Linked DNA regions of Homo sapiens: regions 2, 3 and 4 are each linked to region 1. The links are contacts of gene promoters, found by promoter capture Hi-C in blood cells and fetal thymus (Javierre and others, 2016). All regions are on one chromosome and are shown on one strand. Each heading gives the region's core, a stretch centred on a gene start or on the middle of the fragment in contact. The rest is flanking DNA. Distances are from core to core; before and after follow the strand shown.

Region 1 (5,012 bases), core at 1,471-3,970:
CAAAGGAGAGAGGCTCCTCGCTTGCACGTTTGCTTTCTGCCATTCTCACCGCCTGGCTAACAGAGAGCCACACATGCATCCAAGCTTCCTGACTCAGCATGTTAATAGACTGCTATCTCCATGCTGTCCCTACGGTGGGAGAGGTATTTCGACATGGCAGATGCAGAAAAGGCAGACTCCCTAACCAGGGTTGCAAGCTGGCAGCAAATGAACCTGGACTTCGGCCTGGGCCCCGTGTGCCTTCTCCAACAAGTGATACTGTGTTTATCTTTTTATTTTTATTTATTTATTTATTTATTTATTTATTTATTTATTTATTTTTTGAGATGGAGTCTCGCTCTGTCACCCAGGCTGGAGTGAGTGGCGTGATCTCGGCTCACTGCAACCTCCGCCTCCCGGGTTCAAGTGATTCTCCTGCCTCAGCCTCCCGGGTAGCTGGGACTACAGGCGTGCATCACCTCACCTGGCTAACTGTGTATTTTTAGTAGAGACGGGGTTTCATCATCTTGGCCAGGCTGGTCTTGAACTCCTGACCTCAGGTGATCTGCCCGCCTTGGCCTCCCAAGGTCCTGGGACTACAGGTGTGCACCATCATGCCAAGCTAACTTTTTATTTTTTAAATTTTTAGTGGAAATGAGTTTTTGCTATGTTGCCCAAGCTGGTAATCCCACATTTAACCTAAATATCTAAAAAACTTATTTTTCCTTTTCTTTATTGGCTTCTGTCATTAGACTCAGTGCATATGAACAGAGCTTCTGAGTGTAGACAGCCTGAAAAGGGTAAAATAAAAGGAGCCAATTCGTACTTAAGCAGAAAAAAGACATAATAGAGAAAAAAATAAAATCATAAGAAAAAGGGAAAAAATAGCCAATTGATTGATAATAGAATGGGAAAGTTTCTAAGTATGGGAGGTGGGGGTAGGGGTGGAGCAGGGCGCTGGTGTTACAGCTCACTAGGAGATGAGGAGAGCTGGGTTTGCTTTGAGGCAATTCAGGTAGCTCTTCCTGGTTGGTGGAGACAGGGAAGGAACAGGCAGTCAAGGTTCTGCTTTTGTTCTGTCTCAGCCAGTGCCCATTCCAAGGCTCCTATTCCTCGAAAAAACTGACCTGCTGGGCACTCACTGCAAAGTATCCGCTATGAGTGGGGCCCCTACTAGCAACATACTTCTCCAGGCTGGCCTAGTTTACAGAACCCTCAATCCCAGCTAACAGGGCTTTCTTGAGTCAGGGCCTCTCTGCTACCACACCTCCTCCCACAACATTGTGTGATCCTTTCTGTTTAGGCTCCTTCCGTTTGGTACTGATTGCTGCTTTTATTAGCAAACATTACACCAAAATGAAAATAAATACAAGTGTCAGTGCGGGAAGGGAGTAAAGTGGGTTCTGTGTCTTCAGTACTGGCAAAAGATTTGCTGTGAGACCTGGTGGTCAACCCAGTACCTGATCTTCTCTGTGCACCTGTGCAATTATTGTAAGGATGTTTATCTGTCTGTCTTCTTCCCCCTCACAGGGCGGGCAGCTGTGGTCTTCCTTATACACCCTACTGACACAGGGCTAGGGCCATTCAGGAAGCAGTCATTTCAGGGATAGGCCCACTGCCGCGCCTGCCTGCTCATGTCCACAAGCAGCTGCCCAGCTGATCAATCACCACAATTTGGGGTTAGGAGTTTGGTCCTGGAAGGCAGGTAGCAACAACTACTACCTAGCCAAAGAATATTCTAAAGAGCTGTCCTGTCATGTTCAATGTCTAGGTCCACAATCCCGCAAGCTTAGCGAAGTAATGCTCTGTCATTCTTACCCCCATTTACAGATGGAGAAATGGGCTGGGAGATGACAGTATGGAGGCACCAGGATTTTTGTCTCGGCTCAATTTCTGCATCTCTAAATGGAAATAATTCTACTAACTCTGAGGGTTGTTGGGGGGATTTAATGAATATATGTGTTTACTTGTTTATCTCCTGTTTTCTGTTCTAGACTGTAAACCCCAATGGGCAGCGACTTTGGCTTGTTCACTGCTCTATTGTCAGAGCCTAGAACAAGTGCCTGGTACAAAGTAGGTGTTCAATAAATATCTATGCCTAAATGGAAGAGACAGGAGAGAAGTCTAGGCCAGAGCCTGCCCCTTCTATAACCTTAGTTCCCCAGATTTGCCTTCCACATCAGGCAGCCACTGGTTGATGGAAGCATCGTCGGGCTGGGGCTGGGGCTGGGGTAACCTACTTCTGGCCTTAGGACAAGGTCGGCAAAAATCTCAGCAGTGAGGAGGCCAGAAAAGTCTCCAAGGGGCAGGCTGCAATGCCAGCCTAAGCCCTCAGGTTTCCTTTTTCTTTTTCTACATCAGGAAAAGCACTTTTCTCGCCCTGCCTGCAGAGCGGGCCACCCCTAGCTGCAGGTGAGGGACGGGAGAGGAGCCTCCCACGTGCGGCCGTGCGAGGCCGAGGAACAGGAACGGCGTAGCTAGGAGACCAGGTCCCGGAGAAGGAGAGCTGGCCCCACTGGCAGAGAAAGGCGGGGAAGGGCGCGGAGGCGGAGCACTGGGCGGGTACCCGCTGGCGGCTCTCGCGCGGCGGCGCTGCTCCACCTTAAGCGACTGTACCCCCTTAAGGGCGGGCGCTCAAGCAGCGAGCCCCGGGGGCGGGGCCTCCAATGCAAATGAGGGGCGTGGGCAGGCGGGGCGGGGCGGGCGGGGCGCTGACCTGACGTCAGGCTCGCGGCCCGGGCAGTTGGCTCGGCGGCAGCGGAGCGGCCGGAGCTGCGGTGCGGACCGGGGCCGCGCGGCGTGGCGCGGGGAGCGGCGGCGGCGGCAGAGCCAGAGCAACATGGCGCCGGTGGGCGGGGGCGGGCGCCCGGTCGGCGGACCGGCCCGCGGGCGCCTCCTCCTGGCGGCGCCGGTGCTGCTGGTGCTGCTGTGGGCGCTGGGGGCCCGGGGCCAGGGCAGCCCCCAGCAGGGCACGATCGTGGGCATGAGGCTGGCGAGCTGCAACAAGTCGTGTGGGACGAACCCGGATGGCATCATCTTCGTGTCCGAGGGCAGCACCGTGAACCTGAGGCTGTACGGCTACAGCCTGGGCAACATCTCCAGCAACCTGATCTCCTTCACCGAGGTGGACGATGCCGAGACCCTCCACAAGTCCACCAGCTGCCTCGAGCTCACCAAGGACCTGGTCGTCCAGCAGCTGGTCAACGTGAGCCGCGGGAACACGTCCGGCGTGCTGGTGGTGCTCACCAAGTTCCTCCGGAGGAGCGAGAGCATGAAGCTGTATGCACTGTGCACCCGGGCCCAGCCCGACGGGCCCTGGCTGAAGTGGACGGACAAGGACTCACTGCTCTTCATGGTGGAGGAGCCTGGGAGGTTCCTGCCTCTCTGGCTGCACATTCTCCTAATTACGGTGCTGCTGGTGCTGTCGGGCATATTTTCTGGCCTCAACCTCGGGCTTATGGCCCTGGACCCCATGGAGCTGCGCATCGTGCAGAACTGTGGCACCGAGAAGGAGAGGCGCTATGCCCGCAAGATTGAGCCCATCCGGCGCAAGGGCAACTACCTTCTCTGCTCGTTGCTCCTAGGGAACGTGCTGGTCAACACCTCCCTCACAATCCTTCTAGACAACCTCATCGGGTCCGGCCTCATGGCGGTGGCCTCCTCCACCATTGGCATTGTCATCTTTGGGGAGATCCTACCTCAGGCCCTGTGCTCCCGACATGGGCTGGCTGTGGGTGCCAACACCATCCTTCTCACCAAATTCTTTATGCTACTCACCTTCCCCCTCAGTTTTCCCATTAGCAAGCTCCTGGACTTTTTTCTGGGCCAGGAGATTCGCACTGTTTACAACCGGGAGAAGCTGATGGAGATGTTGAAGGTGACGGAGCCCTATAATGACCTCGTGAAAGAGGAGCTCAATATGATCCAGGGTGCCCTGGAACTACGGACCAAAACTGTAGAGGATATCATGACCCAGCTCCAGGACTGCTTCATGATCCGCAGCGATGCCATCCTGGACTTCAACACCATGTCGGAGATAATGGAAAGCGGCTATACTCGCATCCCGGTGTTCGAAGACGAGCAGTCCAATATTGTAGATATTCTCTACGTCAAAGACTTGGCCTTTGTGGACCCCGATGACTGCACCCCCCTCAAGACTATCACTCGCTTCTATAACCACCCGGTGCACTTTGTCTTCCATGACACCAAGTTGGATGCCATGCTGGAGGAGTTCAAGAAGGGTAAGGCCAGATGTAGTTCCCCTGGTTCAATTTCCTCTTGACGCCTCTTTTCCCCTGGCGTGTTTTGTGTCTGCTGGCTTTAGTGTTCTGTTTGTGTGACTCTGTGTCCCTTTGCCTATCGCTTCCTATGCTTCTGAGGTGAACGATTTTGGAGCGGTAGACCCATTCTCAAGTGTCTGCCGTCTGCCAGGTAGTGTGCTGTGTGCTCCTGATGAATCAAAGCTGAATAAGACATACTCGCTCCCTTGGAGGGCTGGAGCAAGACCTCAGGGAGCTATTGAAGCAAGACAGAGTAAGACAGATGCCTGAAAAGAGGCCAGGGCGATGGAGATTTAGAGTATGGGGTGGAGTCAGGAAGGGGCTGGGAAATTGGGGAATCCACAGGGGAAGGAGCATTTGAGGAGAATCTTAAAAGGTAGAGAGGCTTGCTGCTTGAGGCAGAGGGAACCCCGCAAGCAGAGAACCGGAGTGGAGAAGCAAAAGTGTGCTTGTGGCCCAGCAGGTGGTCCTGTTTGGTGGGTATAGTGGCTCTGATGCTTAGTGGTCAATGGCTGGAGTAGTTTGGGGCCCGGTGGTGGACGCTAAGTTTGCTCCCAGCTTGGGAGCTACAGGTTTTTGAGCAGGGGAGTCATGTTACTGGAGGTGCTAGCCCACAGAAGCAGAATTGGGAGGTCTCTAATTGGCTCGCTTCTCAGAACAATGCCAAGTAGCGCTTTCGACTATTCAGCAGAAGCAAGCAGATTAAGTTTTGGTAATTGTGGCGCCAGCGTAAGCTTCCCTCCAGTGGTCTGC
Region 2 (5,012 bases), core at 680-3,179, 240 kb after region 1:
GGAAATAACGTGTTTTTCCTTATTTTCAATTCCAAAAGTAATTTCTCATGTGTGATTTTATACAAGGACATTATGTAACAAAATGGATGTAGGTTTGAATAACCAGGTATATCAAAAGATGGAGAAACAATTGTCCTGTATAATGCACCCTTCATTATGCAGTCATTCAACAAAGACTGAGCACCTGCCACACTGCCTAGACTCAAAACATGTGCAAAAAGATAATAACCTTGCCATGTACTCAACCCCACAATGGAGGTGTGCCCGGAGGCTGCAGGAGCACACAGAAGTGACATGGGGACCCTGCCTGGAAGGGTCCGATGACCTCAGGCAAGGTAACATTTGCCCAAAGTCTTGAAATTTGAGTTGGAATTTACTATTTATCTCCAAGAGGAGAAAAAGCATTCAAGGAAAAGGGAATAAAATGTGCAAAGGCATGAATGCTTGAGGCCTGAGATGTCGCTTATCAGTGGGCAAGTGCAGGACTCCTAGGTGTCAGCCAGCCTGAGGAGGACCTTACAGGGCAGGACAGAATCCAGTTCAGGTTCAGGACTCAAGGAACAGAGGCCAGAGACAGGAGGGGTGCGAAACAGGGAGTCCCAAAGGAGGTGGTTGTAAAATTGAGTGTGGGAGTGGATGTCAAGGCCCTTAATAGGGGCCACTCCAGGGACTATTGCTGGGGAAGAACCGACAGACATGAGAGAGAGACGGGAGGGGGATTCCACTGTGTTAACTCAGAGGATGACCCCATTTACAAGGTGAGTGGGGTGAAGGTGAGCTCAGCTGGAAGCCATGCCAATTTTGTTTGTTTACTGCAAAAATACTTTATTTTATATATCACTAGCTGTGAATTTTTGTCATTAGTTGTTGTATGAATGCTGCCTAGTGCCATTAACCAAATGGCATGACCATTTTACGTCCACAATTCACTTCTGTATTGACAGAATTTTCTCTCTCTTTTTTTTTTTTTGAGACAGTCTCACTCTGTTGACCAGGCTGGAGTGCAGTGGCGCCATCTCCACTCACTGCAACCTCCACCTCCCAGGTTCAAGGAATTCTCCTGACTCAGCTTCCCTAGTAGCTGGGATTACAAGTGCTCACCACCATGCCCAGCTAATGTTTGTGATTTTAGTAGTGATGCGGTTTTGCCATGTTGGCCAGGCTGTTCTCAAATTCCTGACCTCATGATCAGCCTGCCTCGGCCTCCCAAAGTGTTGGGATTACAGGCATGAGCCACCGTACCCAGCCTACAAACAGAATTTTCATGATTGATGTAAGTAAACCTGTCAGTGAAGATTTACCATTGAGATGCAGTCTAACATCCGTAACATCTGATGTTTTGCAGACAGCAATGTAGGAGAGACTTTTTTTTTGAGACAGAGTCTCCCTCTGTCGCCCAGGCTGGAGTGCAGTGGGGAGATCTCGGCTCACTGCAAGCTCCGCCTCCTGGGTTCACGCCATTCTCCTACCTCAGCCTCCTGAGCAGCTGTGACTACAGGCGCCCACCACCACGCCTGGCTAATTTTTTTGTATTTCTAGTAGAGACCTGGTTTCACTGTGTTAGCCAGGATGGTCTGGATCTCCTGACCTCGTGATCTGCCCACCTCGGTCTCCCAAAGTGCTGGGATTACAGGCCCGAGCCACCGCACCCGGCCGGAGAGATGTCTTTTTAATCACCTTTCATTTAAGTGCCCTTATGTAAAAAAATAAATAATTTGGAAGTTCTAAGTCTCCAAAGGACATTTTTAAACGTACATATAGAAATGGTTACAATGGGCTGGGCACGGTGGCTCACGCCTGTAATCCCAGCACTTTGGGAGGCAGAGGCGGGCGGATCACGAGGTCAAGAGATTGAGACCATCCTGGCCAACATGGCGAAACCCCGTCTCCAATCATGGATTTCTGTGCTTGCTTGAATTTGGGGATTTCCCTTCTGCTCTTCATCCTTTGTATTTTTAGTAACTAAAAATACAAAAATTAGCTGGGCGTGGTGGCGCCTGCTTGTAATCCCAGCTACTCGGGAGGCTGAGGCAGGAGAATCACTTGAACCTGGGAAGTGGAGGTTGCAGTGAGCCGAGATCGCGCCATTGCACTCCAGCCTGGCAACAAGAGCGAAACTCTGGCCGGGCACGGTGGCTCACGCCTGTAATCCCAGCACTTTGGGAGGCCGAGGCGGGTGGATCACGAGGTCAGGAGATTGAGACCATCCTGGCTAACACGGTGAAACCCCGTCTCTACTAAAAAATACACACACACACAAAAATTAGCCGGGCGTGGTGGCGGGCGCCTATAGTGCCAGCTACTCAGGAGGCTGAGGCAGGAGAACGGCGTGAACTCGGGAGGCGGAGCTTGCAGTGAGCCGATGGCGCCACCGCACTCCAGCCTGGGAGACAGAGGGAGACTCCGTCAGAAAGAAAGAAAGAGAGAAAGAGAGGAAAAAGAGGAAAGAAAGGAAAGAAAGGAAAAGTTCCAATGGGCCAGACGCAATGGCTCATCCCTGTAATCCTAGCACTTTGGGAGGCTGAGGCGGGTGGATCACCTGACTTCGGGAGTTTGAGACCAGCCTGACCACCATGAAGAAACCCCATCTCTACTAAAAATACAAAAAATTAGCTGGGCGTGGGGGCGCATGCCTGCACTTCCAGCTACTGGGGAGGCTGAGGCAGGAGAATCGCTTGAACCCAGGAGGTGGAGGTTGCAGTGAGATGATATCACCCCATTGCACTCCAGCCTGGGCAATAAGAGCGAAACTTTGTCTCAATAAATAAATAAATAAATAAATAGAAATAGTTACAATGAAAGCTGGGTGCGGTGGCTCACACCTGTAATCCCAGCACTTTGGGAGGCCAAGGCAGGTGGATCACCTGAGGTCAGGAGTTCGAGGCCAGCCTGGCCAACATGGTGAAACCCCGTCTCTACTAAAAATACAAAAATTAGCTGGGCATGGTGGCAGGTGCCTGTAATCCCAGCTACTCCGGAGGCTGAGGCAGGAGAATGACTTGAAACCGGGAGGCAGATGTTGCAGTAAGCTGAGATCGTGTCACTGCCCTCCAGACTGGGCAACAGGGCGAGACTCTGTCTCAAAAAAAGAAAAAGAAAAAAAAAGAAAAAAAAAAAGAAATGATTACGAGCCTTTTTTTTTTTTTTTTTGAGGCAGGGTCTTACTTTGTTGCCCAGGCTGCAGTGCAGTGGCATAATCACAGTTCACTGCAACCTAGACCTCCTGGGCTCAAGGAACCCTCCCACTTCAGCCTCCCCACTCTTGACATCCCCACACCCCCACCCCAAGTAGCTGGGTCTACAGGGGTACACCACCACATCTAGCTAATTAAAAAAATGTTTTGTAGAGAAGGGGGGTCTCAAACTACTAGCCTCAATCAATCCTCCCACCTCAGCTTCCCAAAATGCTGAGATTATAGGCATGAGCCGCCATGCCCAGCCTACAGACTTTTAAGAGATATTTTCCATGTCCACAGCCTATTGTAATTGCTGTACCACTTTCTCTTCCAACTGCTTTCCTTTGCCTGCAAGAGGAGCTTGAATAAGATAAATGTTTTGCTTGACTTCTTTGATGTCCTGGATTTTCTGTAGCTCTTTATTTTTCTTCAATCTGTTCATTATACATTTAGCTTGGCGTTTCTTTTTTTTATTATTTTAAGTTCTGGGATACATGTGCAGAATGTGAAGGTTTGTTACATAGGTATGCATGTGCCATGGAGGTTTGCTGCACCCATCAACCCGTCATCTAGGTTTTAAGTCCCTCATGCATTAGGTATTTGTCATAAGGCTCTCCCTCCCCTTGCCCTCCACCCCCTGACAGGCCCCAGTGTGTGATGATGTTCCCTCCCTGTGTCCATGTGTTCTCATTGTTCAACTCCCACTTATGAGTGAGAACATGTGGTGTTTAGTTTTCTGTTCCTGTGTTAGTTTGCAGAGAACGATAGCTTCAAGCTTCATCCATGTCCCTGCAAAGGACATGAACTCATTCTTTTTTATGGCTGCCCTTTTTTTTTTTTTTCTGAGACAGAGTCTCGCTCTGTGGCACCCAGGCTGGTGTGCAGTGGTGTGATCTCAGCTCCCCACAACCTCCGCCTCCTGGGTTCAAGCGATTCTCCTGCCTCAGCCTCTTGAGTAGCTAGCATTACAGGTGTATGCCACCACACCCAGCTAATTTTTGTATTTTTAGTAGAGACAGGGTTTCACCATGTTGGCCAGGCTAGTGTCGAGCTCCTGACCTCAGGTGATCCACCCACCTTGGCCTCCCAGAGTGTTGGGATTACAGGCGTGAGCCACCATGTTTGGCCATCTTGGCATTTCTGTTTAATCTCTTCAGCTCTCTTCATTGCATCAGTAGTTTTATTCCACAGGGTTTGCTGGTGTTTGATAGGTTCATTTCTAAGTTTTTCAAACTCAAATGAATGATCCACTGTAAGCTCTTTACCAGGAATGTTTTAGTCCACTTGACATTGCAGGAATTGCATCTTTTTTAAAGTTTTTATGACATTTGGGTTTTCAAAATCTGAACACATTGTAGTTGTTGAGAACAAACATCATGCTGTGGCCAGAGTAGATGAACCCCAAACAGAAATACCACTTTTGATACACGTGTTGAACCTTCGTAGGTCCCCAGTGACCACAAGCCAAGTTTGAGAGGAGTCTTTTTTTTTTTTTTTTTTTGAGACGGAGTCTTGCTCTGACGCCCAGGCTGGAGTGCAGTCGTGCAGTCTCGGCTCACTGCAAGCTCTGCCTCCCAGGTTCATGCCATTCTCCTGCTTCAGGCTCCCGAGTAGATGGGACTACAGGCGGCCGCCACCATGCCCAGCTCATTTTTTGTATTTTTAGTAGAGATGGGGTTTCACCGTGTTAGTCAGGATGGTCTCGATCTCCTGACCTCGTGATCCGCCCACCTCGGCCTCCCAAAGTGCTGGGATTACAGGCGTAAGCCACCGCACCCGGCCTGCCCTTTTTTTTTTTAAACCATGTAGGGAGATGATTTGAGCTCATGCTCTCTG
Region 3 (5,012 bases), core at 1,299-3,798, 190 kb before region 1:
CAGGTTCAAGCAGTTTTCCTGCCTCAGCCTCCCAAGTAGCTGGGACTACAGGTGTGCACCACCATGCCCAGCTAATTTTTTAATATTTTCAGTAGAGACAGGGTTTCACCATGTTGGCCAGGATGGTCTCTATCTCTTGACCTTGTGATCTGCCCGCCTCGGCCTCCCAAAGTGCTGGGATTACAGGTGTGAGCCACCGCGCCCGGCCAAAGATGTGTTTTATCAGAATACTTTCCTATGCTTTATGTTGACTTTACCATGTCCTTAAGTAAGAAGAGAAAGTCTTACCACTTTTATAAAGAGCTAAGGTTCTTTACAATCATGTTACCTCCCATGTTTACTTTTAAAATATTTTCATTGTCACTTTAGCTAAATGGGGTAGCTAAGTATTGTTTCTCAGTAATCTATGACCCTAACTTAAGTATTCAAACCTCCTGACAGCTTTTGATATTCTACCTTTCCCAAATCAAATCCTAAATGGTATCTTTCACACCTACAACTGTCTTTGAGATTTCCCAGAGGGTCCCTGGAAAATCACTTAGGATTTGTTCTTTCACCTTGTAAAAGGAGAGGTACTAGAAGTAATTCAGCTTATCAGATATGTTATTAATAAATTGCATGGGAAGCTTTTGAGGTAGGAGGCAGGATTAGACTCTGGGGGTGGAGACTTGGACAAGAACGAGATTGAAGACTAGCTAAAACAGGGCCAGCGCAGAAGCAGCTTTCCATAAGACTGGCACACCCAAAGGTTACTGCCCCTTTCTGTGGCAACCACCCAACGACCCAGAAGTTACCACTCTTTTCTAGAAATGTCTGCATAACCCACCCCTTAATTTGCATATAATTAAAAGTGGGTATAAATACGACTGTAGAACTGCCTCTAAGCTGCTACTCTGTGCACACTGCCTATGGGGTAGCCCTGCTTTCTAAGGTGCAGCACTTCTGCTGCCGCTGTGCACTGCCGCCTCTATAAAAGTTGCTGTCTCACCCCACCGGCTCACCCTTGAATTCTTTCCTAGACAAAGCCAACAACCCTCCTGGGCTAAGCCCCAATTTGGTGGGGGTGGGAGGGGGCTCGCTTGCCCTGGATCACTTTGTCAAATCAGAAGAGATGCTTTTTTTTTTTTTTTTTAAGACAGAGTCTCGCTCTGTGGCCCAGGCTAGAGTGCAGTGGTGCGATCTCACCTCACTGCAACCTATGCCTCCCAGGTTCAAGCAATTCTCCTGCCTCAACCTCCCGAGTAGCTGGGACTACAGGCATGCAGCACCATGCCTGGCTAATATTTGTATTTTTTGTAGAGACAGGATTTCACCATATTGGCCAGACTGGTCTTGAACACCTGACCTTGTAATCCACCCACCTCGGCTTCCCAAAGTGCTGGGATTACAGGTGTGAGCCACTGCACCTGGCCTTTTTTTTTTTTTTTTTTTTTGAGTCGGAGTCTCACTCTGTCGCCCAGGCTGGAGTGCAGTGGTGCGATCTCGTCTCACTGCAAGCTCCACTTCCTGGGTTCAAGCGATTGTCCTGCCTCAGCCTCCTGAGTAGCTGGAATTACAGGCATGCGCCACCATGCTTGGCTAATTTTTGTATTTTTAGTAGAGATGGGGTTTCACCATGTTGATCAGGCTGGTCTCAAACTTCTGACCTTGGCCTCCCAAAATGCTAGGATTACAGGCGTGAGCCACCGCGTGCTGGCCTGGGCTATTATTAATATAAAATTTTCAGAAATTGTATGCTTTATGGGAAATTTCTAGACAATCATCAATGTCTTTGCTGTCCATGATATGTTTATGATTCCTGGTGCTCCTTTGCCTAATATTAGACAAAAACAGTATAGTGCTATCAGTTATAATTTGTTAGTTTTTAAAATGTTAACTTGGTTGCAGCTTTAATTCTCTAATGTGAATCTACTATCTTCTGGGCCAGGGTTTTTAATTGAGGATTCACATCACTTAACTATGGAGTTTTATTAATATACAGGTGTCTAGGACCTAATCCAGATTTGCTGAATCTCTTTCCTCAAGTCAAATAAAAACAAACCCAGACTACGTAAGGAGACTTTATTGGAGCAGTTATTGCAAGGGGGTGTGGTAAGGAACTATTGCCGGGGGAGGTTGCTCTGACCATAAGATCTGCAAGTATCTGAGAGGGTGGGCAAAGTGCTTTTATTTTGTAGAGAGGAGTAAATAAGGCTAGAAAGATCCAGGTATGGGAAAGTGGAATGGGAGGGTGGCATTACAGGATAGCAGACCCAAGAATGTCTTATCCCAAAGCCAGTCTATTTTCCTCCCACTCCGCCCCCGCTTTTTTTTTTTTTTTTTTTTTTGTGTGTGAGTCTCACTCTGTCAGCAAGGCTGGAGTGCAGTGGCATGAATATGGCTCACTGCAGCCTCAACCTCCTGGGCTCAAGTGATTCTCCTACCTCAGCCTCCTGACTAGTTGGGTCTACAGGCATGCACTACTACATCTGGCTAATTTTTAAATTTTTTGTAGAGATGGAGTCTCACTTTGTTGCCCAGGCTGGTCTTGAATTCCTGGGCTCAAGAAATCCTCCAGGCTCGGCTTCCCAAACTAAGGGGATCACAGGTGTGAGCCACTGCACCTAGCCCAGTCTGTTTCCAGAAGTAGCAGGACTGCCTGCTGGCTCAGGTTGAGGGTGGGCCAATACTTAGGAGCCTTGGGGGAAGCAGAGAATATGAACCAAAGATTTTGATTTTGTTCCCATTTTGTCCAGTGGGGACAAAAGAGTTCAGCTAATCATTTATGAGGCAAAGAATGGGAATTTGGAGAGTCTGTCTGACTTGGTCAAGGGTAAACAAGGAGCATTTGGGAGTCTTATCCAAGTCATATAGGGAAGGGTGGTCTTCACAGTGAGCTGTTTCCTGGAGGGCAGAGTGCGGGGATTTCTCAGCCTTTGCCGTTTTCCAGAAACACAGGGCTCTCACAAAACTTAACACTGTCATTTGTTATATACTTGGTATATTCATGATATATTATGTCCATGTTTGTTATGTTTTATATCTTAAGATTTTTTTCCCTGAAAAGGTTCACTAATTTTTATAAATTAGATATAACATCTACTTTTCTTTGAAAATAGGGTCAATCATTATATTCATAGATATTTTGCCTAAAAATATTTTGACTGACTTCATCTTGTTTTGCATGCCCCAAAAACTGCAAATATTCTTGAGTTGCATTATCTTTGTAATGAACTCTCATCATGCCTTTCACTTTTGATAATTATAAGCAGTATGTTAACCATAGTCATTTTAAGTCTTCTGTTATCTACCAATAGTGTTCTGTTTTACTCTGATGCTTCTCTGAAAGGACTTGAAATCACTTCAATAAAGAAGGACTGTCTCAGAGCTCCGTGGAAAAGGACTATGCCAGGTACCTTTGGGTATAGACTTCTGATGGCACTACTTAAGCAACTTTGAGACCACATAATTGAACTGAGTCAGGATTTCTAAAACTCTAGTTGAGAAACAGATGGATTCATGAGACTACTAACCTAAGATTGAGCAGAACAGGAATTAATGACATAGGACTGAATGAACTGATGGGGGATGGTTGTGGGTTTTGCTTGGACTATTGTTGTTTTAATGTTCTATTTTCTGAATACATAAAGAGCTCCTTTATCTTAAGCTATCTATAACTCATAACAATTTAGTAGACTATGTTCTTTAAAATGAACATTTGTGTATTGGTCCATTCTTACACTGCTATAAAGAACTATCTGAGACTGGGTAATTTATGAAGAAAAGAGGTTTAATTGACTCATAGTTTGGCAGACTGTACAGGACGCATGGCTAGGAGGCCTCAGGAAACTTACAATCATGGTGGAAGGCCAAGAGGAAGCAAGCATGTCTTACCATGGCGGCAGGAGAGAGAGAGAGTGATGGGGGAAGTGCCACACATTCTCAAACAAACACACCTTGTGAGAACTCACTCACTATCATGAGAACAGCAAGGGGGAAATCTGCCCTCATGATCCAATCATATCCCATCAGGCCCCTCTGCTGACATGTGGGAATTACAATTTGACATGAAATTTAGGTGGGGACACAGAGCCAAACCATATCAATTTGCAAATGGTGTATTTTTCTTACTGCCTGATCCTTCCAGAATTTGGAGTATTCTTAATTTCATTGCAATATAATTATTTGCACAGGTTCAATAAGAATCTGTCCTCCTTGTTTACGGGACAGAATTAGAAACATTGGTTATGCAACAAAGGCCTTTAAATCTTTTGTCATCTACAGATAGTTTTTTTCTTTTACTCTGGTGCCTCCCCGAATGTCATGTTTGAGAATGATGCTCATTTAATCAGCTATGACCAGATACTTTAAAGAACTAAGGTTGACTTTTTGGAGCCAATGTTTACAAAATGCTCTTGGGAAAACTGGCACTGGAGTACATGGTTTCAGCCTTACAGGTGAGTAAGAAAGGTCACTTCCTGACAGTACCAGGAAGCTTAGGATATTCTGGAGACTCAAGAAAAGAGGAATTTGTCCAAATTTATAGGTACTGCATTTAAAGTATGATGGCAAGTTCTTAGCTTGGCTTCCTAGCCTCAAGAGAATTTTAAAAGCTCAGTCTGAAAGTCCTGATGAAAACTTTCAACAAAGTAAACTTAAGAAGACCTGTGTGGCAAATTACCATTCTTACTCTACCTATGTGAGTAATCAGACAAGTCTAATGAGACCAGCCTTATTTTGTGATCAAGTGTTGATCAAGAATAATAGTTTTTTGTTTGTTTCTTTGTTTGTTTTTTTGAGACAGTCTCACTCTGTTGCCCAGGCTGGAGTGCAGTGGCATGATCTTGGCTCACTGCAACCTCTAGCTCCTGGGTTCAAACGATTCTCGTGCCTCAGCCTCCTGAGTAGCTGGGACTACAGGCACATGCCACCACGCCCAGCTAATTTTTTTTTTTTTTTGTATTGTATTTTTAGTAGACATGAGGTTTCACCATGTTGGCCAGGCTGGTCTCGAACTCCTGACCTAAAGTGAT
Region 4 (5,012 bases), core at 1,382-3,881, 170 kb before region 1:
TCGCTATCCACAGGCCTGATCATCGCACACTACAGGCTTCAACGCCTGGCCTTAAGCAATCTTCCCGAGTAGCCAGCTTTCCCTTCATGACTCTTAATTGTGTTCTACTGCTTCTACTTCTGTCCTCTATACTTCTTGGCTCTTTTGATGCCTTCTGAGAGAATTCCTAATTCTAATCTTCCAGTTAATTAATTCTTTAGCCATATCCCTTCTACTTTTTATCCCATAATTACCTTGTTTTAGCTATTATATTTTCTATAACTAGTATTTCTGGGTTTTTAAATAACAGTTTCCTGTTGTTTCATATCAGTATCTGACCAACCATAACTCCTTACATATATTAGTCACATATTAACTTATCTCTTCCAATAATTCTGCTTCAGAAAGTATATGTTGTCCACTGTTGCCTTTTGTGAGGTGGCTGTCTCCTCAAATGTTTAGTTTTTGGGGGGTGGTGTTGAAGTAGGCCAAGTGGGAAACTAAAACTTCAATCCCAATGAGTGGTAATAAAGCTCCCAACCCCCACTCTTCTTGTGCCATTAGAGACCATGTGGTTAGCCTGGAAATCTACCCACCTGGCAATAAGACACAACCCTGTCCCAGCTTAGGTGGCATCAGCAAAGACCTAGTGAAGAGTCAGGGCATTTACCTCTGCCTAGAAACAAGAACATGTGAGAAAGACCAACAAGGTACTCCTGCCCTTCCAGCTAGGCTGGCTGGCAGCAGCAGAGGCCAGGTGGGGAGCCAAAACTCCCACCTCCACCCAGCAGTAAAGACTCCACCCCAATGTCAATGAAAGCCAAGTGGGGATCCTAGACTTCCACCCCATCTGGCAGTAACAAAGTTCCCCTATGAGAGCAGTGTCAGATGAGGCCTGCTAAAACAGAAGATTTAAAGAAGATCGAGTTTCATAGATAACACTCAAAATGTCCCAGTTTCATCCAAAACCACTCAAAGAATATATCAAGAACCAAGAAATTCTCAACTCAAATAAGAAAAGACAACCAACAGATGCCAAAATTGAGAAGACACAGATATTAGAACTGTCTAACAAGGATTTTCAAGCAGCCATCATTTAAAATGCTGCAATGAGCAATATCACACTAAGACAAATGAAAACAGAAATCCTCAGGAAGGATACAGAAGACATAAAGAACAAAACAAATTTGAGAAATGAAAACTAGAATAACCTAAATGAAAAAAATCAATGAATAGGCTCAACAGCAGAACAGAAGGGACACAAGAAAGAATCCGTGAACTTGAAGACAGAACAACAGACACAATCTGAAAAGAGAACAAACCAACAGAAAAAAAACAAAAGAACAGAGCCTGAGGGTGCTGTAGGGCTATACCTAAGATCTAATAGTCATGCCACTGGGGGCATGATGCAGAGGAAAAAGAAGGAAGCACTGAAAAAATAGTGGCTGAAAATTCCCCAAATATGGTAAAAAGGCTTAAGCCTATACAGGTTCAAGAAGCTGAGCAAATCCTAAACAGAAAAAAAAAACCAAAATCCATGTCAAGATGCATCATATTCAAACCTGAAAATTAAAGAAAAAGAAAAAATATTGAAAGCACAAAGAAACAACACCTTATCTACAAACGGGAAACAATTTGAATGACACTGAATATCTCATCAGAAAACAAGAAAGCAGAATTTTCCAAATTCAAGAACAGAATTCTGTGGTCAACACAGAATTTATCTAGCAAAACTATCCTTCATTAATGAAAGGTAAAATTCAGACATTCTCAGACAAAGGAAAATTAAAAGAATGTGTTGCCGCTGACAACAAAGAAGACTGGCTAAAGAGAGTTCTCTAAATAAGAAGGAAATGGTAAAAGAAGGAATCTTGGAACATTAGGAAGAAAGAACAATGGAAAGAGCAAAAATATGGGTAACTACAATAGACTTCCCTTTTCTTTTCTTTTTTTTTTGGAGACGGAGTCTCGCTCTGTCACCCAGGCTGAAGTACAGTGGTGCAATCTCGGCTCACTGCAACCTCCGCCTCCTGGGTTCAAGCAATTCTCGTGCCTCAGCCTCCGGAGTAGCTGGGATTACAGGCGCCCACCACCACACCCAGCTAATTTTTGTATTTTTTTGAGTAGAGACAGGGTTTCACCATGTTGGCCAAGCTAGTCTTGAACTCCTGACCTCAAGTGATCTGCCTGCCTTGGCCTTGCAAAGTGCTGGGATTACAGGCTTAAGCCACCGCACCCAGCCCTTTTCTTAAGTTTTCTAAATTATATTTGAAGCAAAACTTACAACACTGTCTAACGTGGTTCTCAAAGTACATAGATAGTTATACTAGAGGTGGAAGAGGGTAATGTGGATACCAGGAGACTGTGGTAAGTTACATATATATAAAGTAACATTTTGGAGCAACCACTAAAAAACTATACAAGGAGATACAACTCAAACCGCTATGAATAAACCAAAATTGTATTCTAAAAAAAGTGTTCAAGTAACCCACTTACAGGCAGGAAAATGAAAACAAAAAATGGAAAACAAAAACTAAAATGGCCAACTTAAGGCCTAACATTACCTATAATTACATGTAAGAAAACAGTCTAAAAACTCTAATTAAAAGAATGATATTGGTATAGAAGAAAAATCATATGCTACATGCAGTCTACAAGAAATTCACTTGAAATATAATGACATAGGTAGGGTGAAAACAAAAGAATAAAAAATATGTCATGCAAACATAAATCAAAAACAAGTAGAATGGGTATAGTGTCAAATAAAGTAGACTTCATGGCAAAGAAAACCAACAGGGACAGAGGGACATTACATAATGATAAAAGGGTCAATCCACCAAAAAGACACAGAAATCCTAAAAGTGTATGTACCAAATAACAGAACTGAAAAATATGTGTAATAAAAACTGACAGAACTGAAAGGAGACATAGACAATTCCACAATTATAGTTGGAAATTTCAACACCACTCTTTACAGTTGACAGAACAACTTGACAGAAAATCAGCAAGGATATACAAGAACCTGACAACACCATCAGCCAACAATTTTATCGACATTTATGGAACACTCCACCCTACAGCAGAACACATTTAAGCACCCACAGAATACATACCAAGATAGATCACCCCTGGGCCATAAACCTCAACAAATTTAAAAGACCACAATGAGATACCACTACACACCTATTAGAATGGCTAAAATAAAAAATAAAAGAGGCCAGGCGCAGTGGCTCACACCTGTAATCCCAGCACTTTGGGAGGCTGAGGCGGGTGGATTACCTGAGGTCAGGAGTTCAAGACCAGCCTGGCCGACGTGGTGAAACCCCATCTCTACTAAAAATACAAAAAAAAAAAAAAAATTAGACAGGTGTGGTGGTGGATGCCTGTAATCCCAGCTACTAGGGAGGCTGAGGCAGAATTGCTTGAACCTGGGAGGCAGAGGTTGCAGTGAGCCAAGATTGCGCATTGCACTCCAGCCTGGGCGACAGAATGAGACTCAGTCTCCCAAAAATAAAATAAAAATAAATAAATAATAAAAGAGACAATATAGAATGCTGGCAGGAATGCCGAGAAAATGAATCTCGCATACACTGCTGATAGGAATGTAAAATAGTACAACTACTCTGAAAAACAGTGGCAGTTTCTTTTTTTTTTTCTTTAGAAACAAGGTCTCACTCTGTTGCTCAGATTGAGTACCATGGCACGATCACAGCTCACTGCAGCCTTGACCTCCCAGGCTCAAGCAATCCTTCCATTTCAGCTTCCCAAGTAGCCGGGACTACAGGTGCGCGGCATGACACCCGGCTAATTTGTATTTTTGTAGAGGCAGGGTCTATCTATGTTGCCTAGGGGGTTTCAAACTCCTGAGCTCAAGCAATCCTACCATCTTGGCCTCCCAAAGTGCTGGGATTACAGGTGTGAGCCATCAGGCTGGGCTGGCAGTTTCCTAAAAAATTAAAAACTTAACATATGACCTAGTAATCACACTCCTGGTTATTTACCAGAGAGAAATGAAAACTCATGTTCTCATTTTAAAAACTGCATACAATTGGCTGGGCACAGTGGCTCACACCTGTAATCCCAGCACTTTGGGAGGCCGAGGCAGGAGGATTGCCTGAGGTCAGGAGTTTGAGACCAGTCTAGCCAACATGGTGAAACCCTGTCTCTACTAAAAATACAAAAAAATTAGCCGGTCCTGGTGGTGTGTGCCTGTAATCCCAGCTACTCAGAAGGCTGAGGCAGGGGAATTGCTTGAACCAGGGAGGTGGAGGTTGCAGTGAGCTGAGATCGTGCCACTGCACTCCAGCCTAGGCGACACAGCAAGACTCCGTCTCAAAAAACAAAACAAAACAAAACAAAACAAAACAAAACAAAACCACTGCACACAATTGCCACAGTAGCTTTATCTGTAATAGCCCCCAACAGGGAACAAACTAGATGTCCCTCAATAGGTGAATGAATTGTTACACAAACTGTGCTAAACCCATACCATGAAATACCACTCAGCAATAAAAGGAATGAACTACTCATATACACGTAACAACTTGGATGTGTATCAAGGAAATGATATTGAATGAAAACAAGACAATCTCAAAAGGCCATGCACTGTAAGATTCTATTTATACATCAACCTATTTAGGACAAGTAGAAGAGATTAGTGGTTGCTAGGGTCAGGAATGGTGGGGAAGGAGATGGATGCAACTATAAAGGGGTGGCATGAGGGAGATCTTTGTGCTGATGGAACCATTCTGTATTTTGTTTATGGTTACAGCGATAAAATGACATAGAACTATACACACACATTGTACCAACTTCCTGGTTTTAATTTTGTATTATAGTTAAGTGAGATGTAAGTACTGGGGAAACTTGGTGAAGGGTGTTATACTATACTACAATTGCAGGTTAAAAACACACATATCTAACAGTCCAGCAGTGTTTTGCTTTGTTTAAATCCATCTACTTCTCCTTAGAAAAGTAATGATATGAACCACATGACTTCATCTTCTGGATACTATGATTGGACTGGGTGGGAA

What was found. Contacts are between HindIII fragments. The CHiCAGO score rates a contact against its expected background, and 5 or more counts as called.
Region 2: a fragment that was not itself captured here is called in contact with the fragment with the promoter of CNNM4 in region 1 in 2 of 17 cell types (total CD8 T cells and non-activated CD4 T cells); the score reaches 7.5 in total CD8 T cells.
Region 3: a contact is called between a fragment that was not itself captured here and the fragment with the promoter of CNNM4 in region 1, in 14 of 17 cell types (megakaryocytes, M0 macrophages, M2 macrophages and 11 more). The highest score is 12.7, in megakaryocytes.
Region 4: a contact is called between a fragment that was not itself captured here and the fragment with the promoter of CNNM4 in region 1, in 16 of 17 cell types (megakaryocytes, M2 macrophages, M1 macrophages and 13 more). The highest score is 14.1, in megakaryocytes.

What each region holds. Positions count from the first base shown.
Region 1 is chr2:96,758,182-96,763,193 of GRCh38, forward strand. It overlaps CNNM4 (cyclin and CBS domain divalent metal cation transport mediator 4), which reads left to right and starts at 2,721. Exons shown (of 7, transcript NM_020184.4): 1 at 2,721-4,220. The coding sequence starts at 2,819. RefSeq lists enhancers at 2,159-2,208, 2,768-3,357, 3,229-3,478, 3,358-3,946 and silencers at 2,539-2,958, 3,082-3,265. The HindIII fragment of the contact is 3,226 bases long and covers 1,766-4,991 here.
Region 2 is chr2:96,996,986-97,001,997 of GRCh38, forward strand. It overlaps the pseudogene LOC100420569. Among named protein-coding and RNA genes, the nearest start is that of FAM178B, 13 kb to the left of the region's middle. The HindIII fragment of the contact is 4,040 bases long and covers 1-3,949 here.
Region 3 is chr2:96,565,993-96,571,004 of GRCh38, forward strand. No RefSeq gene overlaps it. Among named protein-coding and RNA genes, the nearest start is that of ARID5A, 32 kb to the left of the region's middle. The HindIII fragment of the contact is 3,848 bases long and covers 625-4,472 here.
Region 4 is chr2:96,586,673-96,591,684 of GRCh38, forward strand. It overlaps a transcript of KANSL3 not described here. Among named protein-coding and RNA genes, the nearest start is that of KANSL3, 49 kb to the right of the region's middle. The HindIII fragment of the contact is 8,293 bases long and covers 1-5,012 here.